Linked DNA regions of Homo sapiens: regions 2 and 3 are each linked to region 1. The links are contacts of gene promoters, found by promoter capture Hi-C in human tissues and cell types (Jung and others, 2019). All regions are on one chromosome and are shown on one strand. Each heading gives the region's core, a stretch centred on a gene start or on the middle of the fragment in contact. The rest is flanking DNA. Distances are from core to core; before and after follow the strand shown. Region 1 holds the start of NANP (N-acetylneuraminic acid phosphatase). Region 2 has its middle 42 kb from the start of LINC01733. Region 3 has its middle 24 kb from the start of LINC01733.

Region 1 (4,054 bases), core at 836-3,335:
TATCCATCCATCCAGCATTTATTCAACATTTGCCATGTGTCAAACGAGGATAATTAAGACAGCTTGTTCCCTCCCAAGAAGCTCACTATTTAGTAGTAGGCACCTGAGTTGCAAAATTAATTGAAATATCCTTTGACAGATGCATTAAGAAATATCTGAACAAAATACAGCACTACTATAAGTGAGGGTGTAAAGACCAGGGAGGCATACGATTTAGTCTTTGTTTTAAAAATATTGCTGTGGCAAGAATGTGGAGGACACACTGGATGTGGTAAACCTGGAGACAAGCCCACAGCAACAGTCTAGGTGAGAGATGAGTTCAGCTGTAACTGAGACATGCACGGGGCATGTGCAGTGGTGGACAGACAGCGTACGAGGGTGGAAGGTGCTATAGTTCGCTGAGTGGACACTGCAACCATGGGCTTCCCAAGTATTACAGGGTTATTGAGGACTAATATAATTCACATTTTATGAAGATATAAGGCTCCGAGTGGTTAATTCCTTGAGGCACTTTCAGCTAGGTTTTGGGAGAGCTGTGATTCATATTCAAATGTCTGATTTTAAAGCCCAAACTCTGGGCCTACAGCAAGAATTGGCCTAAAGCAATAATTTAATTGAAATGCACAGGACTCAGCTTACTAATAACACACAGGTAAATATGTAACATCTGCAGCGAGAGATACTGGAGGCAATATGGCACAGGGTGGCACCCCTGAGGTGGAGGCCAACAAGTTAAAAGTGTGGAATGCCTCAGTAAAGTCATGAAGACAGACTTTAAAAATGTCTACTGATTCCGGCATTTTGGGAATGCCTAGTGATCCAGCAAGTCTATTTCAGTCTAGCGGTGAAGATAAAGCGACATTACGATGGATTTAGTAATAAATAGGAGGTAGAGACAAGGAGATAACGGGTATAGATTTCTCCGGGAAAACATGGCTGTCAAGAGAGACAGGCAACATCTACAGCAGGAAGAATAGCCCAAAGGGAGGCATCCTTTTTACAGCTTTTTTAAAACTATAGGGCAAACATGAATATGCGGCAGGAGTGGAATGCAGCTAAAAAGAAAACGGATGAGGTAGTGGAAGATCCAGGGACACAAAAACTAACTGATGAAGCATGAAGAGGACGGGGCGCTCAGGTTTGGATGAATTAGCTTTTGAAAGTGAGTTTTCCACATCTGATAAATCCTTCCCTTTCCCCTTGAAGCTGAAGGTAGAGAAAGGGAAGCCGGGGTGGACTGGGGCTGGAACACGGGAAGGTCTGAAAGCGCCTCCGCGCGTGTAGAGGGGCAGTGCCGCGGAGGAGCGCCTCAGGAAGGGCATGCCCTCGCAGCACGGGCTTTTGCTGTGTCACGTGTCAGAAAGCCACGGTGACCACCACCCCGCCAGGGAGGCCAGAAGAAGTTCTGCGGCGACAATTCTCTAAAGCAGGGCTTAAGTCCAGGCTCGGTACTGACAGCCGTGTCCCTTCTTGGGTCAACACTGGGGCTAACTCTACCATGTCTCCTCCCAGCAACCCCGAAAGTCGCATGGGGGACACGACCCTCTGTCGAGCTCCACACCGACAGTCTGACCGGGGGCGGGACCAGCGCCTGGTCTCGCGGCTTTGCTGTCGCCTCCCGCGCCCACGGGCACCTCCGCCACCGTGGCAGCCGTCACGGAGCCCTTCCGCGTCCCGAGCGCCAAGGCACCTGCGAGCAGCCGCTCCAGGGCTCGAGATTGGGTGACAAGCGGCCGCCAGGCCAGGGAAAGCAGACCCGCAGGGCCCGCGCGCCTCCAGCCACCTCCGCACCCGCACGCTCCACAGGTTTCAACCAGCAAGAGCGGCCCGCGGCGCCGGGGTGGAAGTGGGGTCAAGGGGAGGTGAGCGTGCAGGACGGGGCGGGGCGCACTGACCCCGCCCAGAGGAGCGCCATGGGTGGGGACGTTACCTCCAACATGCCTCTCCTGCTCGCCCCGGCCGTGTCGATGAGAGTGTTGTCCAAGTCAAAGAAAACCGCCCGCACGCGGCTCAGCCCCATAGCGCCGGCCGCTGGCGCGAACCGTAGCCTTGCCACCGCCGCCTGCGCATGCGCAAGGCGGACTGCCCAGAGAGACGTGGGAGGAGCCGCGAAGTCACCAGACCATCTCCCGGCGCGGGTGGAATTCCCGCGATCTGTCTCATTCCCTGCGCCGCCGAGAAAAGTGAGATCCCGCGAGACTCCCAGGGTATGGTCTCTCAAGAGCCCTGGAAACGTGTGTCGGCGCCGCCGGATGCGGCGACTTCTCAGTGGCTGTGGCTGGCGTTGGTCCGAAGCGTGGTGTTCTTCCCTGGTGTCTTTCTGCTTATCTCTTTCCTCCCTGGGCCCTCCGGCGCGAGGGACCGTCATCACCTCCCCGAGAGAGGTTGTCCGCGCTGCCAGGCGCTGGGCAGCAGGCTCTCCGGGTGGCCGGGCGGGCGGCGCGGAGACGTCGGCGGGCCTGATGTCTGCCTTGAGCGCCCGCGGTCCTAGCCTGCCTGTACGCGCAGGTCACTGTAGGTGATCTGGGGACGGGGGAAGGTGGAGCCTGCGCCTTCCCGCCTCGCGCCATTTGCGGCCTTCGCCGGGGTGGAATCCCTGTCTGCCTGGGCCCGCGCCAGCACGTTTCTGAAGGATGTGACTTGGGTCTCTTACAACCCGTTTAGTACCTGTGCCCTAAGACGGAGGGGCTGTGTAGTGGCTGCCCCATGTTTTGCCCTTCCTGATTGTTTTCCTGAAACCTTGCGTTCTCAGGTCTTTGGATGCCTTTTACTCGGTTGTTTTCAGGCATAGCAAGAGGTTGAGGGACGTCGACCGCCTTTTAAACCCGCGGAAGGGCTGTAGCAACTCTTGTCTCCTAGTGCTGGCAGAACGGGGATCGTAACACTAATCTCTAATCTTTGTCTCTCTTGGGTACCTTTACTGTAATTTGGATATGTGGTCATCATTAGTGACCAGAAATTGACTGTCAGGTACAGGCCAATTACCTGATTTTGTTTAGCCAGTGAGCTAAGTGGTTTTTTTTATTTTTTAATTTATTTTTATTTTTATTTTCGAGATGGAGTCTTGCTCTGTCACCCAGTCTGGCGTGTAGTGGCACGATCTTGGCTCACTGCAACCTCCGCCTCCCGGGTTCAAGCAATTCTCCGGCTTCAGCCTCCTGAGTAGCTGGGATTACAGGCGCATGCCACCACCCCCCGGCTAATTTTTGTATTTTTAGTAGAGACGGAGTTTCACCATGTTGGCCAGGCTGGTTCTCGAACTCCTGACTTCGTGATCCACCCGTCTTGGCCTCCCAAAGAGCTGGGATTACAGGCGTGAGCCACCGCGCCTGGCTAAGGGTGATTTTTACATTTGTAAATGGATTTAAAAAATCAAAATAACAGTGTTTTGTTACACATGAAAATCAAGAAATTTTAGTGCCCATAGTTGCATTAGAACACAGCGCACACATTCATTTCTGTATCGTCTGTGGCTGCTGTTGCCATACAGAAGCAGACAGAGTTGAGTAATTGTAAGCGAGACCACGTGGCTGGAAATCCTAAAATATTCATTATTTAGCTCTTTAGAGAAAAAAATTGCCAGTCTCTCACCTCGCTGGTGGAACTCCTTAACAGACCACTGATGTTCAGTAGGTTAGATTAATTGGTTTATCTTTATATTAATAGGAGTTTCTTCTGCAGCGTTAGACTACCTACAGTTTCTATATTTTATGGAGCACAATCACAGTTGACATCTCATTGCTATGGTGGAGAATAAACCCATAGGCATTCCTCAAAACCATGACTCCTTTCTGTGCTTACCTCATTGACGTATAGGGCTAGCCTATCAATTGTGGACATTTAGATTAGCAATCAGCCAAAATTATGGTGAATTAATTGGAGTTACTTTTAATTGCCTGAAATGTCAGAATCAATTTAGCATAAAACTATAGGCACAGGAAGCTTATAGGATTGGAGCAGCTTTTTTTTTTTTTTTCTGACTTGCATGCAGAGTTTGTTGTTTGCTGATTTAGGCAAAAATCTAAGGTTAGATGAGGCATAGCAGTCTGTATAA
Region 2 (4,054 bases), core at 486-2,985, 370 kb after region 1:
GTCATGAAATATCACGTTATGTAATTCCATTTAAATAAAATGTCCAAAATACATGAATGCATAGAGACAGAAAGTAGATTAGTGGTGGCTCAAGGTTAGGGGAGTTGGGGGAAATGGAGGGATATGGGGTTTACTTTGGGGTAATGAAAATGATCTAAAATTTATTGTGATGATGTTTGCACAACTGTGCAAATATACTGAAATCATTGAATTTTACACTTTAAATGGGTGGCTTCTGTGATATGTTAATATTTCTTAATAAAACTTCAGAGAAAAAGAGTACCTGTGTGCCTCCAGAGTCCACATTTTTACACTTGATGATGAAATCAAGATATTGTTTCTTCTTCTTCTTTATTTTTATTTTATTTATTTTATGTTTTGAGACAGTCTCCTTCTGTTGCCCAGGCTGGAGTGCAGTGGCACGATTTCAGCTCACTGCAACCTCCCAGCTAATTTTTGTATTCCCAGTAGGGATTGTGGTTCACCGTGTTGGCTAGGCTGGTCTCGAACTTCTGACCTCAAATGAGTCCACCATCTTGGCCTCCCAAAGTGCTGGGATTGCAGGCATGAGCCACCACACCTGGCTCAAGACTTAGTTCCCATTGTTTCAGATGCCCTAGGACCATTTTATTCTACTTTAATTTCTGATGCATCGTCTCAGTGGAAATTTTACATTACTTCCCAAAGTATTTTACTCTTTTTAAGATCTTATCAGCTGAGTGCAGTGGCTCACACCTCTAACTGCAACATTTTGGGAGGCCAAGGTTGGAGGATCAGTTGAGCCCAGGAATTCAAGTCCAATCTCTGCAACATAGTGAGAAGCCCATCTCTACAAAAAAAAAAAAAAAATGTTTAATTAGGTGGGTATATTGTTGCATGCCTGTGGTCTCAGCCAGTAGGTAGGCTGAGGTGGGAGGATCACTGGAGCCCAGGAGGTTGAGGCTGCAGTGGCCATGATTATACCACTGCATTCCAGCAAAAATATTTTTAATTACATTTTTTAAGAAAACAAAATATACACTTACTGACTTGATACAAATGAATGACTTTTATAATCTACAGAAACCAAAAAAATAACAATAATAAAAACCCACAGCCATTCTTCTTATGTGAGACTCTGGTGTCTCTGAGTTGTAAGAATTGTGAATTATGATTAATAACAAATATGCATGACAAGGACCCAATAAGAGATAGGCATTGATAAATTGCAAATCACACTTACTGGAGTAAGGTCTTTAAAGTTGTACAAGAAAAAGAAAGAAAAAGAAAAGGCATTGAAAAACTGCATTGGCTACCAAAATGCTAAAGTTTACCTAAGTCCATTAATCAGCACACACACACACACACGCAATGGATGTGTAAAATGGTCAACATGGTATTCCATGAACGTATCCTCTTATAAATAGGTCTGTGGGGGTAAGAGATGAGGTTCTATAGATCCTGGAATCAGGGATGGGGAATCTGTGGGGTCCCTGGGGTGAGAGATGAGGGTCTGTAGATTAGTGATGGGTGGTCTTTTGGATAGTGATGAGATCCATGGAATCAATTCTTGTGGGTATGTAGGGTCAGTGATGAGGGAATCTGGTGTCAGTGGCGGGATGTGTGTGGAATCAGTGAGAGAGTGTGGAATCAATCTGTGAAGGCCAGATTTGTGGTGTCATCTCTCAGGCTGACACATCCTGACCTGTGTGACAATGGTGGAAATTCTATGGGGTCAGAGTGTGACAGTCAGTTCCTTGCCACTGGGTGTTCTGGGTCCGGCCAAGGGCACAGATTCCCTTACCTGATCCTGGCTGGAGAGGCCCTTCTCACGGACTCCTCATGTGAAAGATGGGTTGTCGGCGGTTTTGGTTTTTGTTTTATGGTGGGGGTGGGTGGGTTGGCTTTTCCTTTTGGGTTTGGTTTTGCCTCTTAGAGACCACAGACACATCCAGCTTTTAGGAAGACATTTTTGTCTGGGCGATCGCTAGTTCCTTTGGGCCAAGCCATCTAATGGGAATGAAGCTGACCATTCCCTCAGCGCAATTCAGATCTAGATGGTCGCTTTAAGGGGTCCACTCGGGGGCATGCAAGTGGGTTGTGGCTTTGAGTGGCAGGTGGGCGGGAAGAAACAACTAAGAAAGACACACGAGAGGTCCTCAGGCTTGATCTGTCACAGCTAGAAGAACAGCTTCCTTAACCCATCAGGCGCCAATGGGAGGTGCCTCTGGGCTGCAAGAGGCTGGCAGAGGGGGACTTCCAGACCCAGAAAGTCTGGGCACAGAAGCCTATTACTGCCAGACGCTGAGGAGTTGCCGTGGGAACCAAGGGCCTTTCGGGCCAGATCAGAGCCTTTCTCAGACAATTCTTTGGGTAACTGGCAAGCTCCTGTCCAGCGCACACCCCTATGAATGCTTAGTGTGCCATCTCGGGCAAGTCTTCTTTGGTCTGAGAGCCACTTGTTTCTTAAATCCCTGCGCTAATCTCGCCGTCTGCTCCTATGTAGCCCAGGCATTTGCCGCATGCTGGTCCTTTCTTTCCTGACAGGCGGGCAGTCTCCCTCCAGCTTCTGGGAGGACAGTTCAAATTATGGAGGAGGGGGTGCATGTAGGGCAGCAGTGCCCAGGGGAGTATGGGGGAGTTGGGGGAGCAGAGGCTCATTTTTCTTTATAGCTCAGATTCCCAAGCCTGTGACTTTGAGAATCTTTGTCTTCCTTGCAACATTTCAATCTGAGGCTCTTGTGGAGAGGGCAGAGTTGGAGCCAGATGGAAGAGTGGTGGGAGAGGAGTGGGTGGAGGGAACATGGAGAATGTTTCAGGTGGTGTCTTTATTTCTGGCACCTTACTTTGCCTACTGGAGTTTCCCAGTCTGTTCCAGACGCCCTCTCTAGACCCTGAGAGGGCCTGAGGAGGCATGTTAGTTGCCAGTGTGGTGGAGATGGAGTGCCGGGAGGTGGAGGTTGCAGTGAGCCAAGATCACGCCACTGCACTCCAGGCTGGGTGACACAGCGAGTCTCTGTCTCAATAAATAAATAAATAAATAAACAAACAAATGGAAGGGAAAAAACACAATATAAAAACCAAGTGATTCTAAAAGTAACAATATATCATAATGCCTAAATATGTGTAATTGGTGGGGCATGGTGGCTCCGATTATCATAATGCCTAAATTTGTGGGATTGGTGGGGTGTGATGGCTCCCACCTGTAATCCTAGCACTTTGAGAGGCTGGTGGATCACCTGAAGTCAGGAGTTTGAGACCAGCCTGACCAACATTGTGAAACCCTGTCCCTACTAAAAATAGAAAAAAATTAGCCAGGTGTTGTGGCGGACACCTGAAGTCCGAGCTACTAGGGAGGCTGAGGCAGGAGAATCACTTGAACCCAGGAGCAGAGGTTGTAGTGAGCCGAGATTGCCCCATTGCACTCCACCCTGGGTGACAGTGTGAGACTCCCTCAAAAAAAAAAGTTTGTGGGACCAATTCCAATCGAGTCCAGGGGTCTCAGTTGGCCAAGGCAGTCTCAAACTTCTGACCCCAAGTGATCTTCCTGTTTCGGCCTCCCAAAGTGCTGGGATTATAGGCGTGAGCCACCATGCCCAGCCTCCCCTCCTTTTCACTCAGGGATTTTAAATGTTTTATTTGCTCCATCTGTTATGTATGATTGCCTTGACGATTTCAGCTTGAATTAAAATTACATATTTTTGCCTGTGTTTATTAATATTTAAACATATTAAAATAATACATGTTCATAATGAAAATGAAACATTACAAATAAATACACAGGAAAGGCAGTATTCCCCTTCCAGCTCCACTCTTGAAATAACCAGTTAACAAGATGATGAACATCTTTCCATGATGTTCTCCAAGATTCATATAATTATTTGCAATCATACAATGGCATATACAGCTCAGGTGTGGTGGCTCACGCATGTAATTCCAGCACTTTGGGAGACTGAACCGGGTGGATCATTTGAGGTCAGGAGTTCAAGACTACCCTGACCAACATAGTGAAACCCCATCACTACAAAAAACACAAAAATTATCTGGGCGTGGTGGACGCTTGTATTCCAAGCTA
Region 3 (4,054 bases), core at 852-3,351, 360 kb after region 1:
CACCAGGTGGTGGGTAGTGGTCTCATAGTGGTGGCTGGCATTGTTTGCACTTTGCAGGAGGCTTTTAAGTCCTCTGGCAGGAATCCTTGAACATGGCTTGGACTCCTGCACAAGTCTGCTCATTCTCCCAGGAGAGCCTTGATTTTTCTTTGCTTTCATGGTTTGTCCACATTGCCAATCAACAGCACTCCTGGACATTATTCTCAGGTTTCAAATTGCCCCAGACAGCCTCTGAGACACTCTCTCAACCTCATGTGCGCCCACGAGAGGCCTGTTTTAGGTGTGAGAACACTGCTCCACCTTGGACTTGCCTTTGTCGTGGTTTCTGCCTTTCCCAGAGAGCTGTGCTGAGAAGCAGGAGCCCCTGTGAGGCCTGGGATGAAGGAAGGCAGGGGGTTCAAGGGCCTGGCCATCTTCCACTGACACCTGCCACTTGGATCTCAGATATTATTCCATCACCCAGAGACCTCTTAACAACTCACCAGACTTTATTCCCATCCCCAGGAGACCCAATTCATGCACACAGCCTCTTTTGGGAATGGAGTCAGAAGACCAGTCTCCAGAGCTCACCTCACAGTCTTCAAACTCCTCCTTCTCCTGTGGGACCCTACCATGGAGATGTCTCATGAAGGCCCTATGTTCGAGACTATTAGCGTGCTGCAGTGGGTTGCTTCAGGCAGCCTTTTTCTGGAGACTAGGCCAGCTCTGGCTGTACCATTTTCCTGAGCTTTGCCAGGCTTACAGCCCTGACAGCCAGGTGCCCGAGCCTGCTTGGTGAATGCACATGTGACCGTCAGGCCACCAGGCACCAGTGGTGAGCAGTGGCTCATGTCACAGTGAATGCCACCATTACCTGGTGACAAGTCCCTTCATCTTGGTGGAGAAGGAGTCCTCTGTGGATGTGTGTTGGCATTGAACTATCACCTGTCTACTCTGAGGGCTCTATGGGATATTCCCACAATCCTAGGAGTGGGCAGTGGCGAGTCAGCCTGAAGACACATCAAGTGGAGCCCCAGGAATAAACCACAAAATCCCTAAGGATCCAAAAGGATACCCACGATGAGTCAGGCCTGCCTAGACAGTGTGGGAGTGAGTCTTTTTGAAACTTCCCTCCCTGTGATTTCTAGGTACATCCCGCCTCTGTTTTCTGAGGCTGCTCTCTCTCAGAAGGAGCTTTCTGCAGAACCGTGCAGCCTCAGGAGCTGCCAGGCTGTGTGTTTCTGTGCGAGTGTTGTGAGTGTTTGAATGTCTGCGTGTGTGTGTGTGGCTGTATGTGAGTGTGTTTGTGTGTGTCTGTGTGTGTGTGTGAGGGGCATCTGCTAAAAGGAATGTGTTTAATGCACTGCAGCACTTTTTTTTCTAGTCCCTCCACCTTCTGGTGCACCTGTCTGTGTGGCTCTGCTTGGCCTATGGGGCTGCATGTTCTTTGTTTTTCCGTGGTTCCTGAGTCCACGGTGAGTTGGGGGGATGGTTGAGACTCACAGGTGTACAAATCACCTCCCCATACAAAGGAGCCATTCTTCTAGAAAGAAGAGGAGCACACCACTCTCAGAAGAAGACACCTGTCAGGGCCTCATTGTCCTGTGGTCAACCCAGGGTGTGACTCTAGCAGTCCTGTCCACAGGCCGCTTGAATCCAATTCGAATTCTGTTTGCAGCCGAGCAGGTGCTTCATGTCATGAAGGGAGCACTCCTCCAACATCTTGGGATTTCATTCTAGAACTAGGAGTGTGAGCAGCAATAAGTTCAGATATGGGTGAGCATACAGTCTGCTGAGGTGTGGATGGGGTCTGCACCTTCATCTGCAAAAAAAGGTGCAGACAGATGACACACGAAGTGCTTCCAACTCCACCCTTGCATTCCCTTCATTGCACAAGCTGTCCACAACATGGCCCCATGGTCAGGTGGGAGGACTCCAACTTGCGGGGAATAAAAAAAAGGTTTAACTGATACAAAAAGGTTTATCTCTGTAAGATAAATCCACACATCGCAAATAATTTGCAAAGATAGCTTCTTTCTAGTTTTTATGCCAGGATATTAGGTTTTTCAGTATAGTCCACAATAGGCTCTGAAATGTCCCTTCATAGATTCTACAAAAAAGTGTTTTCATCCTGTTGAATCAAAACAAAGGTTTAACTCTGTGAGATAAATCCACACTTCACAAAGCATTTTCACAGATAGACAGTTTTTAGTTTTTACTGTGAAATATTTGGTGTTTTACTTTAGTCCTCAATGTTCACGAAAATATCTTTTTTTTTTGTATATGCTACATAAAGAGTGTTCTCAACCTACCGAATGATAATAAAGGTTAAACTTTGTGAGATGAATCCACACATCACAAAGCATTTTCACTAATAGATTGTTGCTAGTATGTATCGTGGCATATTCAGTTTTTCAATATACTTGTCAGTGGGCTCCAAAATGTCCTTTTGTAGATTCTTTAAAAAGAGTGTTTCCAACGTGCTGAATCAATATAAAGGTTTACCTCTGTGAGAAGAATCCACCCACCACCAACATTTTCAAATATTGCTTGTTTCTAATTTTTATCTTGAAATATTCATTTTTTCACTATAGGCCTCAGTGAGCTACAAAATGTCCCTTCATAGGTTGTACAAAAAGAGTGTTGCCAACCTGCTGAATCAAAACAAAGGTTTAAGTTTGTGAGACAAATCCACATATCAGAAAGCATTTTCACAGGTAGCTTGCTGCTAGTTTTAATCACTGGTATTAGGTTTTTCAGTATAGCCTCTAATGTACTTTGAAACATCCCTTTGTAGATTCTATTAAAAGAAGGTTTTCAACCTGCTGAATCAAAACAAAGGTTTAACTCTGTAAGATGAACCCACACATGGCAAAGCATGTACACAGATAGCTTGTTTCTAGTTTCTATTGCAGAATATTTGGTTTTCCACAGTAGGCCTCAATGGGCTCTGAAATATCCCTTTATAGATTCTACAAAGAGTTTTTCCAACCTGCTGAATCAAAAAAAGTTTTATCTCTGATAGATGAATTCACACATCATAAAACATTTTCACAGACATTTTGTTTCTAGATTTTATCACAGGATATTAGGTTTTTCTCTATAGGCCTCAATGGGCTCCAAAATGTTTCTTCCTAGATTCTACAAAAAGAGTGTTTCCAACCTGCTGAATCAAAATAAAGGTTTATCTCTGTCAGACGAATGAACACATCACAAAGCATTTTCACAGATAACTTGTTTCAAGTTTTTATGATAAGATATTTTGTTTTCCACTGCAGGCCTCAATTGGCTTCAAAATATTCCTTTGAATGTTCTTCAAAAAGATTGTTTTCTACTTGCTGTAACAAAACAAAGGTTTAACTTTGTGAGATAAATCCACACATTGGAAAGTATTTTCACAGATAGCTTGTTTCCTGTTTTTATAGCAGAATATTTAGTTTTACAACTATAGGCCTCTATGGGCTGTGAAATGTTGCTTTATAGATTCTAAGAAAGAGTTTTTCCAACCTGCTGAATCAAAACAATTTTAACTCTCAGTTGAATCCACACAACACAAAGGATTTTCACTGATAGATTTTTCTAGTTTTTATCAAGGAATATTTGTTTTTTTATTATAGTTCTCAATGGGCCCTGAAATGTCTTTTAACACATTCCAGAATTAGACTGTCTGCAACCTGCAGAATAAAAACAAAGGTTTAACTCTGGGAGATGCATCCATACATCACAAAGCATTTTCACAGATAGCTTATCTCTAGTTTTCATTGTGGGACATTCGATTTTTTAAAAGAGGCCTCAATGGGCTTTAAATGTCCCTTCGTAGATTCTCCATAAATAGTGCTTCTAATCTGCTAAATCAAAACAAAGCTTTAACCTTGGGAGATGAATCCACTCATTGCAAAGCATTTTCACATAAAACTTTTTCTAGTTTTCATCATGGGACATTTGTATTTTTACTACAGGCCTCAATGGGTTCCAAAGTGTCTCTTCATAGGTTCTACAAAAAAAAGTGTTTCCAACCTGCCTTCTATAGATTTTCCAGAAACAGTGTTTTCAACCTCCTGAATCAAAACAAAGA

Evidence for each region. Contacts are between HindIII fragments. The study calls those that stand out against the background at their distance.
Region 2: a contact is called between a fragment that was not itself captured here and the fragment with the promoter of NANP in region 1, in 1 of the 25 tissues and cell types used here (lymphoblastoid cells).
Region 3: a fragment that was not itself captured here is called in contact with the fragment with the promoter of NANP in region 1 in 1 of the 25 tissues and cell types used here (spleen).

The regions. Positions count from the first base shown.
Region 1 is chr20:25,621,929-25,625,982 of GRCh38, forward strand. It overlaps NANP (N-acetylneuraminic acid phosphatase), which reads right to left and starts at 2,086. Exons shown (of 2, transcript NM_152667.3): 1 at 1,931-2,086. The coding sequence starts at 2,020. It overlaps ZNF337-AS1 (ZNF337 antisense RNA 1), which reads left to right and starts at 2,117. Exons shown (of 4, transcript NR_126465.1): 1 at 2,117-2,207. RefSeq lists enhancers at 1,359-2,034, 2,006-2,175 and a silencer at 1,776-1,835. The HindIII fragment of the contact is 13,881 bases long and covers 1-4,054 here.
Region 2 is chr20:25,995,352-25,999,405 of GRCh38, forward strand. No RefSeq gene overlaps it. Among named protein-coding and RNA genes, the nearest start is that of LINC01733, 42 kb to the left of the region's middle. RefSeq lists a silencer at 4,022-4,054. The HindIII fragment of the contact is 8,751 bases long and covers 1-4,054 here.
Region 3 is chr20:25,977,854-25,981,907 of GRCh38, forward strand. No RefSeq gene overlaps it. Among named protein-coding and RNA genes, the nearest start is that of LINC01733, 24 kb to the left of the region's middle. The HindIII fragment of the contact is 3,730 bases long and covers 237-3,966 here.